Regions from separate parts of the Homo sapiens genome. Here region 2 is linked to region 1. The links are contacts of gene promoters, found by promoter capture Hi-C in blood cells and fetal thymus (Javierre and others, 2016). All regions are on one chromosome and are shown on one strand. The core of a region is centred on a gene start or on the middle of the fragment in contact, and the rest is flanking DNA. Distances in the headings are between cores, read along the strand shown.

Evidence for each region. Contacts are between HindIII fragments. The CHiCAGO score rates a contact against its expected background, and 5 or more counts as called.
Region 2: a fragment that was not itself captured here is called in contact with the fragment with the promoter of LPCAT1 in region 1 in 1 of 17 cell types (total B cells); the score reaches 5.3 in total B cells.

The regions. Positions count from the first base shown.
Region 1 is chr5:1,519,630-1,526,450 of GRCh38, forward strand. It overlaps LPCAT1 (lysophosphatidylcholine acyltransferase 1), which reads right to left and starts at 4,331. Exons shown (of 14, transcript NM_024830.5): 1 at 4,081-4,331. The coding sequence starts at 4,215. RefSeq lists an enhancer at 1,854-2,358, silencers at 3,519-3,718, 3,989-4,298, 4,319-4,718 and a cis regulatory region at 5,488-5,723. The HindIII fragment of the contact is 5,602 bases long and covers 1,882-6,821 here.
Region 2 is chr5:1,397,369-1,405,093 of GRCh38, forward strand. SLC6A3 (solute carrier family 6 member 3) reads right to left here. Exons shown (of 15, transcript NM_001044.5): 13 at 5,554-5,721; 14 at 3,547-3,618. Among named protein-coding and RNA genes, the nearest start is that of LINC01511, 21 kb to the left of the region's middle. RefSeq lists an enhancer at 7,475-7,725. The HindIII fragment of the contact is 1,438 bases long and covers 5,011-6,448 here.

The DNA.
Region 1 (6,821 bases), core at 3,081-5,580:
AGACGGCACAGCAGCTGGGCCTCTGTGTCCTCACCTGTGCTTCCTGGGGCAAAGGATGACAGTGACCAGAGGCGAGGACACGGGAAAATGACGCTTGGGCCTCTACTGGGCCAAAACAGTTGGCACCATCACACCCAGGTCATCAGAAGGCAGCTGGGGGCCATGGGCCTGGCACCGTCTCCAAGGCCTCTGAGGCATCCAGGGAGACAGCAGGCCCTGTACAGCCCTGGCCTTCTCCATCCTCCCCAAGGGACAGGCACTCTCCTGCACATCCTCCACAGGGTGTGGCTGCCCTGTGCTCCCACCGGGTACACTGCCCAGGGCTCCTTGGCCCACCCCACCCCTCCACATCCACTGCCCGGCAATGGGGCTGAGCGAAGAGCCAGTCTTACTGAATCCAGGCAGGCAGCACCCAGGGACCCAGTGGGCAGCAGGAGCAGCTCAGAGAAGCCTGAGGAACCCCCATCCCCGTGCATGTGTGCCTGGAGGGCACCAAGGGTCAAGAACACACTGCAAACACAGCCATCCACGTGAGGAGCCTGGCAACGTGTGCAGGCACACGAATTCCTGTTCTGCAGTGGCCATGCTGGACTCAGGAGCGAGGCTGAGAGGGCGGAGTCCTGCTCCTGAGTTTTTTTAAAAAATCACAACTCAGGTATTTGTATAAAAATGTGGAGAAAAAGATGGCCCACTTTTGGGTAAATTCTATGCAGGGCCACCAGGCAGGGAGGGGCAGAATCTGTCCCTGGACTCAACCCTCATCATAATCCTCTCTGTGGATTAGCCAGCGTGGGCAGGCGGGCACCCAGCAGCCTCCTCCACTCTGAGACAGCAACGCCCGTCCAAGGACTCAGCTCCAAGGTGCACAGGAAGGCATTATGCTTTCCAGGATGTAAGTTCTTGCCAACTCTGGTTCCGAGCAGCAGAGACTTTAGAAATGGGGAAAATGGGCCGGGCGCGGTGGTTCACGCCTGTAATCCCAGCACTTTGGGAGGCCGAGGCGGGAGGATCACAAGGTCAGGAGATCGAGACCATCCTGGCTAACACGGTGAGACCCCATCTCTACTAAAAATACAAAAAAAAATTAGCCGGGCATTGTGGCGGGCGCCTGTAGTCCCAGCTACTCGGGAGGCTGAGGCAGGAGAATGGCGTGAACCCGGGAAGCAGAGCTTGTAGTGAGCCGATATCGCACCTCTGCACTCCAGCCTGGGCGACAGAGAGAGACTGTCTCAAAAAAAAAAAAAAAAAAAGAAAAAGAAAAAGAAAAAAAAAAGAAATGGGGAAAACGCATCAGAACCATAGTGGGAAATACTCATACCCACAGATTCCAAGGAAAGTACCGAGAAAACCCTGGGTGACAGAAACCACTTCATGACTCCAAAACGATATATGAATGTGTGACTATGAAGAACCTCAGCTGAACTCACTAAGATCCTGTACCATACCATTTACCGCTCTCTACTAAATCTATATCCTTGCTTTAGCCAGAGGATTAAAACATTGCACGTATTACAGACCCTGATGGCTTTGATACCTCTTTTCAGATCTTAATGTGCTGTTTTCTGTCCAAAGAGATACTTAAGCTCCTCACTAAATCTGTAGTTAAATGACAGATGGGCTGGCTGGAGGAGGAGGTGTCCCCGCATGGCGCTAATCCGAAGACACACAGCAGCCCCTCCCAGGCGGCAAATGCTCACAGGTAAATGCAGGTACTCACTGGTTTATCTCAACTGGGAACTTAGCTGGGTTTCTGCGGGTTCTTGAGTGTGTCAGCCACTACTGGACCCATTTCTTTCTTTGGGGAAGAAGGCTTTCTTGGCTTGAAAGACAGGCTATTTCACTCTGTGGAAACTTTACAAGAATATATCACATCAAAGTAAAAGCTTTGCAAAGCAATGCTTGGTGAAAAGCAAAATGTTTCTGCAGAGAACTTTGAGAACGTTTACAAACTAAACCCTTGAGCCACACATTGCAGACATCCAGCAGAAACGACTGGATGTACAAACACACCTAATTCCTCAGATGGAACCTCTGAAGTGGCAACAAAGCAAGCCCCCTCTCTGAGAGGCCCCAACACCTCAAGCCAGGATCTCTGCCTGGCTTCGGCCCAAGGGAGAACAGCTGCCCAAAGCCTTCAATCTCGGGACCAGGAGCCTCTCGATGACCCCCTGCCCAAGAGCCACTGGGAGCAGCTTGCACCCTGAGGTCTCGGGGAGGAAAGCAGGCCCCTCTGGGCACTCTGGCAGTGCCCTGACATCTGTACCTACCCATGAGAGTCTCTGCCCTGCTTCTCGCCAGGGCAGTGGGTGCACACTTTTGGACAGAACACACCTCAACCGGGGGCTGCAACTATGACAGGGATGACGAAGTGGCCTCCGGGGACCTCCAGGGAGGGGCTTGATGTTTCCCCCCAGGGAGCCAGGAGGGAGTAGGAAAGGCAGGAAGAGAGAGCATGCCTGAGGCAGCCATAGCTGGGGCAGGAGCAGGGCTGGGGAAGCCCTGGAAACCACAGCAGGGGTTCGAATTTCATCCGGGGGCGTCCCCGCTGAGGGCTTCCGAGCAGCAGAGTGCAGGAGGAAGAAAGCCTGCTGGGAGTGACTCAGGGAGAGTGACCAGGGAGAGAGCCTGGTGGCTGGGTGGGGGTGAGGATTGAAGAGGAGGAATGGTTGAGGGGCACAGAATGAGCGACCGTGTCCCAAGTCCTCCTTTGAGGGGCACAGCACACGGCAGCTGACAGCGTGTGGCAGACAGAGGGCCAGGCAGAGCGGCGGCAGAGGGGCCGGCACCGCCCCAGCCCCAGAGTCCAGCTCCCGACACACAGGGAGACGGGGGCCAGGGCCTGGGAGCCAGGCTGGGGACGACCTCACCCTGTGTGTCACCAGGAGGGGCGGCACCATCGGGCTCTCCTGCTCCCCGTCCCCTTCCATACCCTGAGGACCAGCCGCATCAAGGGGCTTTGAGCAAAAGCAGGCGTCCTGGGAAAATGACAAGCTCAAACTGGCCTCAAGAACTTTTCACTTCAGGGTTCTTTCAGATAAAGTACTTTATGCATTAACAAATCTCCATCTTCCCGGAAATCTATTCTCACAATTGGAAGCGTGCTCCCTACAAACCGGACAGCCCCATAGGCCCCGAAACAGTGCTTGCTTCTAGGAATTATTCTAGAGTCAAAAGTAAGGTCCTCTTGAGAGTGGATCTCAGGTAACTGTAAGCCCAGCTGGCAGCCAGGTAGCCGGAAAAGCCAGGCTGAGCCAGCACATCCCCGGTGCAGCTTCCTGCAGCGAGCGGCCCCCTCCCCACGACGCCCCCGGGTCTCCCCTCACCACTGTCCCATCGCAGGATCTCAGCAAACCGTTCCCTCCCACGTGGCAGCCCAGGTTGCATAAAGTTGATTCGGGTCAGACCAGCCCCGAGAAAGCATCCCTTACAACAGGAGCGAAGCATGCACCCCAGAAGGCAACGTGCGGCCGCAGAGCAGGGAGACCCGTGCGCCTACAGGGGACCCTACAGGGGACCCGCACCGCCCGCGCGCCCTGTCCCGGGCACCACCAGGCCCCGCACACGAGGCTCACCCAGAGCCGCGGTGCCCTCCCGCCCGCGGGCCGCGTCCAGGCAAAGCCGCTCCGGAGTCCCCGGGCTGCGCGCAGGGCCTGCCAAGGCGGGCGGGGCCCGGACCAGGGACGAGCGCGGGGACCGGCGATGCGGGTCCAGCCTCCCGCGGGAGCCGAGGTCGGGGCTCTGGGAGGCAGAGAAAGGGTTGTGGGCCCGGTTCAGGGTGCAGGGGTCTGGGGGGAGGAGCAGAACGCGGGGCGGGGATGGGAAGCGGGGACCCCGAGGAAGGCGCTGAGGGACCAGGATGCGCGTGCGGGCGGCGGGAAGCCGGCGCCGAGACCGAGGCATCGGGTGCGGGCGGCGGGGACGCGAACTGAGGGGCGGCCGCGGGGAGGGAAGGCGCCGCGGCTCGCAGGGCCGCGCCGCGCCCCAGGCCCCCTCCCCGGCCCCTCCTCGGCCGCGCCTCCCTGGCCCCAGCATCCCTGGCGTCCGCGCCGGCTCCCGGGGCCGCGCGCCCTGGGCACCCACCTGGGCCTTCTGCAGGGCGCTGAGGCGCAGCTCGTGCACGAAGGGGTTCCGCCCCGGGGGCGCCAGCAGCCGAGCGTCGCTGGCCCCTGCGCTGGAGGCAGGGGCGGCCCGGGGTCCGCATCCCCGCAGCCTCATGGCCGCGCCGTCCCGCGGCGAGCGCAGCCGAGCTGCCTGGGGCGCCGAGCGGGGCCGGGGCTAGCTGGGCGCGGGTCTCGGGGCGCGGGCCGAGGATGCGCGGCGGCTGGAGCGGGCCGGGCGCGCAGGCGCGGGAGGTGACGTGGGCGGAGCGGGAGCGCCGGCCGGGGCGGGGCGTCCCTGGAAGCCTCGCCTCCCGCCGGCCGGCAGGGGCGGCACCAGCCGGAGTTCCGCTACCTGGTGGTTTCTCTGGGGTCTGTGGGGGGCCGGGGCCGCTGGGGACCGGGGGCGCCTCCTGCAGCCACTGGAGCACAGGGATCCCCGGCAGGGTCTGCGCCAGGAGAAAGGGAGGTCCCCCGGGCCCGCGAGGCTGCCACGTCGTCCCCTTCCGCCGCTCGGCCCGCCTGCTCGCGGGGAGGGAGGAAGGGGCGGGCACGCGTCCAGCTTACGCGCAAGGCGGGCCAGGCCCTGGGTGCCGAGCCCCGGGCTGTTCCGGCGAAGGCCCCACGCCATTCTTCTTATTCGTTGGGCTCCTAGCTCGCACCGGCGACCCTGGAAGCTGCCCCGGGCTGAGGGAGCTTCTTCCAGCCGCGCCTCAGCCCAGGCGACTCCCGCCTGAGGTCCACTCGACCTTAGGACCCCCCAGACCTCGGGATCCCCTCAGATCTCAGGACCCCTCAAGCCTCAGGACCCCCTCAGACCTCAGGACCCCTCCGATCTCAGGACCTCTCAGGCCTCAGGCCCCGCAGGGATGGCCCAGGCAGGAGGCGCACATAGGGGCCCTGACTGTCCGTGCTGGTTGTGCAGGGGCTGCGATGAGATCCCAGCGCTTTCTCACCCGTAGCTGCTTTGGCTCGGGCATTGCCCTTGTGGTGCTCAGGAGCCGTGTGAGGAGCCCCAGGGTGGGGCCCATAATTAGCCGGAGCGAGAGTAGGATGGGCTCCTGCCTCCGGGTGAACACGCTTGGATTTCAGAACTCACGCAGGCCTTCGGTCACAGTGCTCACGGCTTCCTCACCCCGGCTGGCCCTGTTGGTTCCTTCATGGCCAACGGACCTCACCCAGACAGAGCCGGTTTGGGCCACCTGGCCAACCCCCCAGGGTCCTGGCTCCTGGGGATGTCACTGCTGTGTTGGCCCCAGCTGGGCCCCATCCTCAGCAGACGCCAGGGAGTGCCCCGACCCCTCCAATGACCCTGCCTGCGCCCTTGTGGACCTCATAGTGCAGCGGGCTGGCAGAGACCCTTCTGTGTCTGAGACCGGGGTGAGGGCCAGGGGTCTGTGCCATCCACATATCATGCACAGAGAAGGCCCCGGCAGGCCAGACCCGCTGCATGGCCTTATTCCTGCCCCATAAGAGTCCCAGCCCATATTCCTGCCCCATAAGAGTCCCAGCCCATGCCTAGCAGCAGCACCTGTCCCAAGTGCCACACCCACGGGGATGGGGTGAGCCCTGTGTGCTGGTGGGCATTGGTGGCTCTGTGGCCCAGCCACCAGCGTTGCACCCACCTCCTGGGCTTTTAGTGGCCACTTGCTCTGATCCCCAAAACCAGAGCCCAGCACCCGAGGCCACCCAAGGCTCCTCACCGAACTGATCATCAAGAAAGCCCAGGACACAAAGCCTGCCAGCCACAGGGCAGCACCTGCACCCCAGCGATCCAGGCGGCCCCACCTGCTGCCTGAGTGCTCTGGAGAGGAGGGGCCCTAGGGTGTCCCAGTCCTGGGATGAGAGCAGCCTCAGGACTGGACTTGGAGAGCCATGAAAGTGGGGTCCTCCCAGAAGCACAGGCCAGGAAGCGGTGTGTGGCGGAGGGGAAACCTGCTGGAGATGGTGCAGAGCCAGATTCAATGGGGAGAGCTGCCAGAGAGTCATGGCTGTGTCCCCAGAAGATGCAAAAGTCCTAACCCACAGCACCTGTGGCCGCGACCTTATTTGGAAACAGGGTCTTTGCAGATGATCAGGTTAAGAGGAAGTCATTAGGGTGGGCCCTAGTCTGAAATGGCTTGTGTCCCTATAGAGAGGGAGATTCGGTCTCAGAGACAGACACAGAGAGAGCTCCATGGGAAGGCCAGGGTTCTGCTGCTACAGGCAAGCAGTTCCCAGGAGCTGGAGAGGCCTGGAGCAGGTCCTCTCTAGTGCTCTCAGAGGGAGCCTAGGCCTAGGGTGCCATGATCGCAGGCTTCTGGCCTCCAGACTGGGAGAGAATAAATTCCTTCTGCTTTAACCTGCAGAGTGCAAAGTGAGTTGGAACCCAGGGAAGGAGGTGGGGAGGCTGGGGGAAGAACCTCATACTGCCCGGCAATCTAAGCAGGGTCAGCAGGTTGTCCTTGAGCCAAGGTCGGTGGAAAGAGGAGTCCCTCTCCCAGAGGGGTCTTAGGTGGAGCCACTGTGGGCAGCGTGGCCTTGGTGTAGAAGCTCAGTGGATCCTTGGGTCACAGGCACCATGTGGAGGAGGCGCAGAGGCCCAGCTCCGGGGTCAGTACACAAGGGGGCACAGCTGGGAGGGTGGGTGTGACAGGGCCAAGGGCTGTGCAGAGCAGGGGGCAGGACTGGGGCACACTCGTCCTCACCAAGCAGAACCCAAGAAGGCCCCAGAGAGCGGCCAAG
Region 2 (7,725 bases), core at 4,480-6,979, 120 kb before region 1:
TGCAGTGAGCCGAGATTGCGCCACTGCACTCCAGCCTGGGCTACAGAGCGAGACTCCGTCTCAAAACAAACAAACAAACAAACAAACAAACAAAAAAGAAACCCAGGTCCCGACACTCCGCAGTGAACCCGAGACACCGAAAGCAGAAGAAACTCGGCCGAGTGCAGGGGTGAGGACAGAGCCCACCACAGAGCAGGCTCACAGGCCACACATCTCAGCACAGCCACGGAACACTGCTGCCTCCAAAACGCAGAGATAGTCCCTGTCAGCCTAGAGCCCTGAGCCCACAACAGTGCTTTCGTGAATGAGAGCAGCATAAAGATGTTCCCACACACCAATAGTGAGGGAGGTTAGCAAGAGACCTCCTCAAAGGAATGTCTGAAGGATGCTTTTTGAAAAGCAAGAAAATGGTCCTAGAAGAAAAGAAGTCTATAACAAAAGTATGGGAACCAACAAACACCAAGCATGCACATTAGTCCAAGGAACATGATGAGTCCGTACAAAATAATAACAGGAACAAGAACAATGACAGTGTCTAATTTGTGGGTTAAAAAGAGAGAAATAGATTTGAACAATCATAGCATGTTCATCAGTAGGAGGAAGATTTAAGTCCTTATAATGGGATGGGGTTAAAATATGGTTTCTCTGTAGAGTTTAAGTGAAATATGTATGGTACAACCTCAAGAGTAGCTATTAAAGGAATAGAATAAGTCCGGGCACAGTGGCTTACGGCTGTAATCCCAGCACTCTGGGAGGCAGAGGTGGGCAGATCACTTGAGATCAGGAGTTCGAGACCAGCCTGGCCAACATGGTCAAACCCTGTCTCTACTAAAAACACAAAAATTATCCAGGTGTGGTGCTGGGCACCTGTAATCCCAGCCACTTGAGAGGCTGAGGCAGGACAATTGCTTGAACCTGGGAGGTGGAGGTTGCAGTGAGCAGAGATCATGCCACTGCACTCCAGCCTGGGTGACAGAGCAAGACTCCACCTCAAAAAAAAAAAAAAAAAGAATAAAGTATGTAAGTTCTAAGCAAGTAGAGAGAAATAAACGGAATAATAAAAATGAGTGAACCAAGAAAAATCAATCTATAAAAAGGCAATAAAGGAGAAAAACACTAAAAATGGGACAAATGGAATAGAAAGATAGTAGAATCAAGTTCAAATATATCAATAATCACAACAAATGTAAATGGATTAACCTGTCCAACTGTCAGCGTAAAAAATTCTAGGTGTATGCTGGGTTTGCAAAAGACACTTAAATCTTAAGGTTACTGCAAAGTTGAAAGTTAACAGATTGCAAAAGATATTTCAGGCAAACTCAAAAGACACCTTGGTGCAACTATATTTGTCCCAGACAAGTCAGACTTTAAGACCAAAAGCATCATTAGGGAGTGAAGATGGGTTCATGTCACCAGGAAGAGATGATCATTCTGGACATGGATCAACCTCAGAAAACAGCCTCAGACTACAGAGAGCAAAACCTGATAGAACTGAGGGGAACAGCAAACAAATATACTATCGAGGAAGAATATGCCACAGGCATCTCTCAATTACTCATGGTCAAGCACCCCTAAAGTTGACAAAGTGTAGACAATGTGGGTAACATAATATATAACCCTACTCAAATGGACAGAAGCAGAACTGTGTATTGACAATTAGAGAATAGCACATTCATCTAAAAGATGTGCAACGTTTATCAAAGTTGATCAGGTATAAGGCCCTAAAGAAGTCTCAATACATTTTAAATAATAGGTATCATATGTGTTTGAGAACAATGAAATTAATTTGGAAATTAAAAACAAAAAGATGAGTAAAACATCCCCATATATTTGGCAATTTAAAAGCAGACTTTTAAGCAAGTTATGAGTTGACAAAGTCACAATGGAAATTAAAATATACTTAGAACTAAAAGATAAAGAAAAATACTATGAAAAAAATACGGAATGTAGCACATGGAGTATTTTGAGGGAAATTCATAGCCTTGAGTGCTTACATTAGAAAAGAACGAAGGATGCAAATTAATAACCTAAAGTCCAAATTAAAAAGTTAGCAAAACTACAACAGAGTAGATCCAAGAAAAAGAGAGGAAGAAATGATAAATACAGGAGCTGAGATTAATGTGACAGGAAGCACAGCAAGAATCTCACATGAAGTCAAAGTTGGATATTTGAGAAGACTAGCAAGATCCTGTACAAAGTGTAAGACCCCCAGGTATAGGACTCTCAGAGGAGAGAGGCTCTGGTGGAGCAGGACCGGAGGCCCAGTGGGGAGGGGCTGGCATCCTCTGGATGGATGGGATGGGATGCCTGGACACGCCTCCTGTGTTTGGAGCAGGCAAGTCACTGGGAGGACAGAGGAAAGGGTGCCAACGGAGGGAGGCAGAGCCCACACCAGAACCTGACTTGCAGGTAGGAGGAACAAGCTGTGCAGATGTGTGCTCAGAGGCGGCTTCTCCCCACTGCCTCCCGGCCTGTTCCCTGCTCAGCGTCTTGTTCTGCCTGACGTCACCACCCACCTCCCAGGCACGCAGAGCCCCCTCCCTCTGCCTGTATCCTTGCTCCTGCCCCATGTGCAGGTCCATGCTGGGCTCCTCAGGCATGAGCTCATGAGACCCCTGCTGGGAGGACTGTTTACGAGAACCAGCCACAGAGAGGTGGCCAGAGGGAAGAGGCAGGTCCGAGGTGGGGCCGCGGTGCCCTCCACACTATGGCCTTCTCTCCCTTTTGCTGTGCATTGGACTCTGCTGTCGGCATTAGGCTGACATTAGTGTATGGAATCAGGTCGGGGCTGAGGCCACTCTGGGGTGGAGGAGGACAGTGCCACAGGCCCAGGGCACAGCCCAGGCTCCTCTCCTGCTGGCCAGCTCTGTGATCTTGGGCACATTCCGGGGCCTCTCTGGGTCTCAGGGACCCTGGTGTAGAGAGAGTGCTGGGCTGCCTCTTAGGGTTGTGGGAGTAAAAACACGTCAAGTGTTTACTGTGTGCCCCCGGGAATGCACCTGCTCCACGGCATGTCATGAACATGTTCGCACACAGCTGGATGGCTCCCAGGGTGCAGGAAACACCTGGCGTGACCATCCTCTCACTCGAAGCCAGCCCCAGGCTCCCAGGCCTCTCCCAGCCCCTCCAGGGCTCCCTGTGGCTTCCCATGGCCAGGCCCAGGCCTCCCCTCCTGGCACTGTCCCTTGTGCCCCCGTGAGGCGGGGGGTGGTGGTCCCTTGCTGGTCCTTAACCTGGCTCAGCTGGCCCCACAGGGCACTGCTCCCGTGGTCTGGGACATGCCCAGGTCTTTGCAGGGACCATGCTTTCCTCAGGCGTCTGTGCAGCCGCACCTCCCAGGGCCCCTGCGTCATGTGCCCCCCGTCCCGGGCACACGTCTCCACTGTCACCTGCCACCACTGGCTGCCTGTCCTCATAGAGCACATGCTGGCTGAGTAAATGAGCACCATCTACACCAGCCTCGGAGCCCCCTGGGGGCTAAGAACACTGAGCTTGGGATCATTCTGAATTCCCCCGAGAGAGGCCCAGCAGGGACCTCGACCTCACCGTGAACTGGCGCACCTCCCCTCTGTCCACCAGCTCACGGTCCTTCTCGGGTGCAATGGCGTAGGCCAGTTTCTGAAAGAGAAAGAGAGTGCAGGGGTCAGTGCAGACCAGTACCCACTGCCAGCACCCACCACTGACTCACACTGCCAGGACCCTCACCTACCAGCACCCTCACCACCAGCCCTCCTCACCTGCCAATGCCCACCCGCTGGCATCCATATCACCAGCGCCCACCACTGACTTACACTGCCAGTGCCCATGCCGACCAGACAGCCAGTCAGGCCCGAAGCCAACATCCTGACGGTCCCCTTAAAGTCTAGCGCAGAGCAGAACATCAGCATTTGAGCACTCGCTTGAAAATAAAACGTGGTCCTGGAGATGGCTCTTGAGTCTAAGCTACCACGTGTGCTGGGCTCTGAGTAAGAAAGTGCCCACACCCAGGTGGGCTGCCTCGGGGCCACCTGCAGCTGACATATTCCGGGAGCACTTGCTTTTTGTCACCTGCAGCTCTTGGGAGAGTGAACGCTGAACGTGCCTTCCTTCCACTGCCCGCTGCGGCAGCTCCTGGGGCCTGGACAGCACCAAGTCCTCCCAGAGCAGGCAGCATCTTCAGGAGCTCACCCTCTCGGGCCTGGATGCCTGTATCTGGATCTCTGAGGCCAGGTGACCTCTCACAGGGACCCCTGTGCGTGGCCCCACCCCACGTCATCACCACAATTCCACTTGTACCTGGCTCAGCTGCTGAGGTTTTACTTGGCTTACGTTCAGAGTTTGGCCATGCGAGGGGTAAGGGCGCTGGCTGTTCAGGTCCGCCGGGCTGTAGGCATCCTCCAGCTCTGCGCTGACCTGGGCCCCGCCTCCCACGTCCATCCAGCCTCCCAGAGGAGCTCTCTCCCTGCAGAGACTGCCCGGCTGCCTGCTCTTCCCCTGTGCTGGGTCCTGGCAGGTCAGCCCGTGGGGGTCTGAGAGGGACTGTCCACAGCAGGGTGCCATCAGCTTTCCTGGGGCCATGGCAGCCCCAGAGCTCCTCCCACTCCACAGAAGCCCCCAGCCACACACTGTGCTTTGCCTGCACTGGGCCTTGGCCTGGCCAGGCTGCTGGAGAGACTGGCTCAGTGCCAGCCTGAGAGCATCTGCCACATGTCTGAGCCCAGGGGACACCGTGTGGCCCTAAGGTGGAATCCTTGAACACAGCTGGTGCTGCTCTGGGGTTTTGATGCCCAGGGCCAAGCGACTTCTTTCTGAGAAAGGCTGGGATTTGAGGAAGCAGCTTCCGGGAGTTCCCAGTGGTGGGATCTCAGGTGAGGGCGACCCTCTTCCAAGGAGGGAGTGTCCTTGTCTCTTCCTGGAACCACAGAGCCAGGGTGTTAAACAGGGCCCTGTGACTGGTCCACCTGCCTTTCTTCTACACAAAGGCGGCAAAACCAAGCAGAAGAAAGGAGATGCATATCAGTGACTCCGCAAAGCTTCCTCCACTGCCTGGGGCTCCAGCTGCCCCTGTTCAGCCAAAGTTGGGCTCGGCCCTGGGGGGACCTAGATCACCCCTGATTCTACCGCCCTCAGATGGCTTCTGTGTCCACCACACCACATACCATAGTGTGTAGGCATGCATGCACTCAGTACACACAAACACTTGGACACGAATGTGAGCACAGACCCAGGCCCACACACACGTGCACACGGAGACAGCACATACAGACACAGAGATACAGTGGATGTACACACAGGCACAAGCACACACAGACACATGCACACACAGACACACACAGACATGTGGACATACTTAAAGACACACACATGAATACACATATGGACGCACACCCATGGGCCCGGGCGTGCAGGTGGACACACACACGCACACACACACACAGTGTTGTGGTGGCCACCTCCAGTCTCCTCCTCTTGGTCACAGATGACCCAGGCAGGTGAGGACTGGGGCCATGGACACCCACGGAGCCTTTCTGGTGGCCTCACACTCGGGTGAAGGCGCCCCGTCCAAATACCCACCTCTCGAAAGGACCCAGGCAGGCTGCAGAACTTGTAGGCCGCATAGATGGGCACCATGGCCATGGAGGATGTGGCGATGACCCAGCCCAGCGCGTTGGCCCAGTCGGGGAAGATGTAGGCTCCGTAGTGGGGGGGTCTGAAGGTCACAATGCTGACCACGACCACGAACTGCAACCAGCAGATACGGAGGTCAGGCAGCTCTCAGCCGGCGGTGCCAGGACAAAGCAGGGAGCGGGCAGGCACTTCATGGCAGAGCGTCTCTCAGCCCCCACAGCTGTGCAGGTGCAGACCCCGGCCAGGCCTGCAGACATGGCAGCTGGGCATCCCGGGCAAGCCATGTCCTCCTGAAGCATGATCTAGCCTGTCCTGTCCTATCCTGTTCTCTCCCCTCCCCTCCCCTCCCATCCCATCCTGTTCCATCACCTCTCCTCCCCTCCCCTCCCATCCTGTTCTGTCCCCTCCCCTCCCCTCCCATCCTGTTCCATCCCCTCTCCTCCCTTCCCCTCCCATCCCATCCTGTTCTATCCCCTCTCCACCCCTCCCCTCCCATCCCATCCCATCATGTTCTATTCCATCCCATCCTGTTCTATTACATCACATCCGGCTCTATCCCATCCCATCTCATCCCATCCCATCCCTTCCTGCTGTATCCCACCTTGTTCTATTCCTTGCTTGAAATCACAACAAAAACAAAACTGACCACCACCCAGTACACTGAATCTATGATCATCCATGGCCTGAAGACACAACTGTGACCCATGCGGGACCACCCTAGGGCCATCTGAGCTCCGTATCTCTACTCATTCTAGAAGCAAATCTGATAAAGTCACAGACCTGTCTCAGAACCACCACCACAAAGGTAACAGAGGGTGGGGTGGATGCCACTTGGAGGGGAAGCTTCCCACTCTCCAGAGGCTTCTCCTGAGGCAGCTCATGCATTTGTTCATCCACTCCACAAACATGCACCACCATCTAAAAAGATCCTCCATGTGCCTACATATGCACCTCACACCTGAATGTGTTCTGTGCACCCACATGTGTACTGCACGCCTACATATGTGTTCTGTGTACCTGGGTCCTTCCCAAGGACACAAGTGAAGCTCTGATAGATATGGTTTATGATGTAGCTTAAAATGCAATTTTTTCCCAATTGTCCACTTTTCCTCAATTTCAGAAAAGTTAAAACATCCAAGCCTTCCACCTGAAAAGCATGTTGGACGCGTGTCTCATGCCAGTCTCAGCATCTTCTTCATGCGCTACTTCGGGCCACTTGTAGGTTTGGAGCCGGCTAGCGGAGGACTGGGATGGGGGCTGGGGTTGTGTCTGTCACGTGACCAGAGCCAGGGTGAGCAGCACTTTGGCGAGCAAAGCCAGTGGCCTGCAGCATCTGGGATCAGGGGCGGCTGCCTTGGCTGCACAGAGAGCCCTGAGCATGCTTTAAAGAGCCACGCGTGCATCCCTGGACATGTCGGGCTTGCCTATCTGACATGGAGGTATTGCTGTAATGTGCTCTCTGTTATTGTTCAACTTCTTGCTAGATACCACCTTTCTTAGAAAGAACTATGCCTCCCCAGGCCACAGTCTGCCCATGTAAGTTGCCTTTGCTCCGGCATAATTTCCCTTTAGCAGTGCTGTGGCATCATCTGCCACAGAGTCATCTGAACGAGACTGGGGCGTGTACACCCCTTACGACCAGAGGTTAGCACACGCCAGAGGGCAGGGGACTATGCCGCAGCCTGAAGAAACAGATGATAACACAGACGTTATGTTTCTGCTGAAATCAGAACTTCATAGGAATTGTGCTGTCATATTAAATACAAAATGACATAGAGCAATGAAATTGTCATGTTTCTCTCAACTTGGCAAAATGAAGTCCTGTTTCGTATAGTTTGTAGTTTTATCTAAAAGTCTACGAAGTGTGTTTCTGTATGAAGTTCGAAGATTTAGTCTAAGATCAGTAGAACATTTTATCTCCTAAGATCGAGGTCAGCCCTCTGGGTGTTAAGAGGAGACACCCCCTCAAGGGGAGCCAACGTCCTCATGCAAAACAGCTCAGTTTCAACTAATGGCGGGGGAGAGCGGGAGGTGGGCAGGAGGCTGACTTTCTGGGAGGGCTTCCTCACTTTCCCCTCTGAACAGCCATGTAGTCTGTGTGCTATTAAAAGCCCGCCC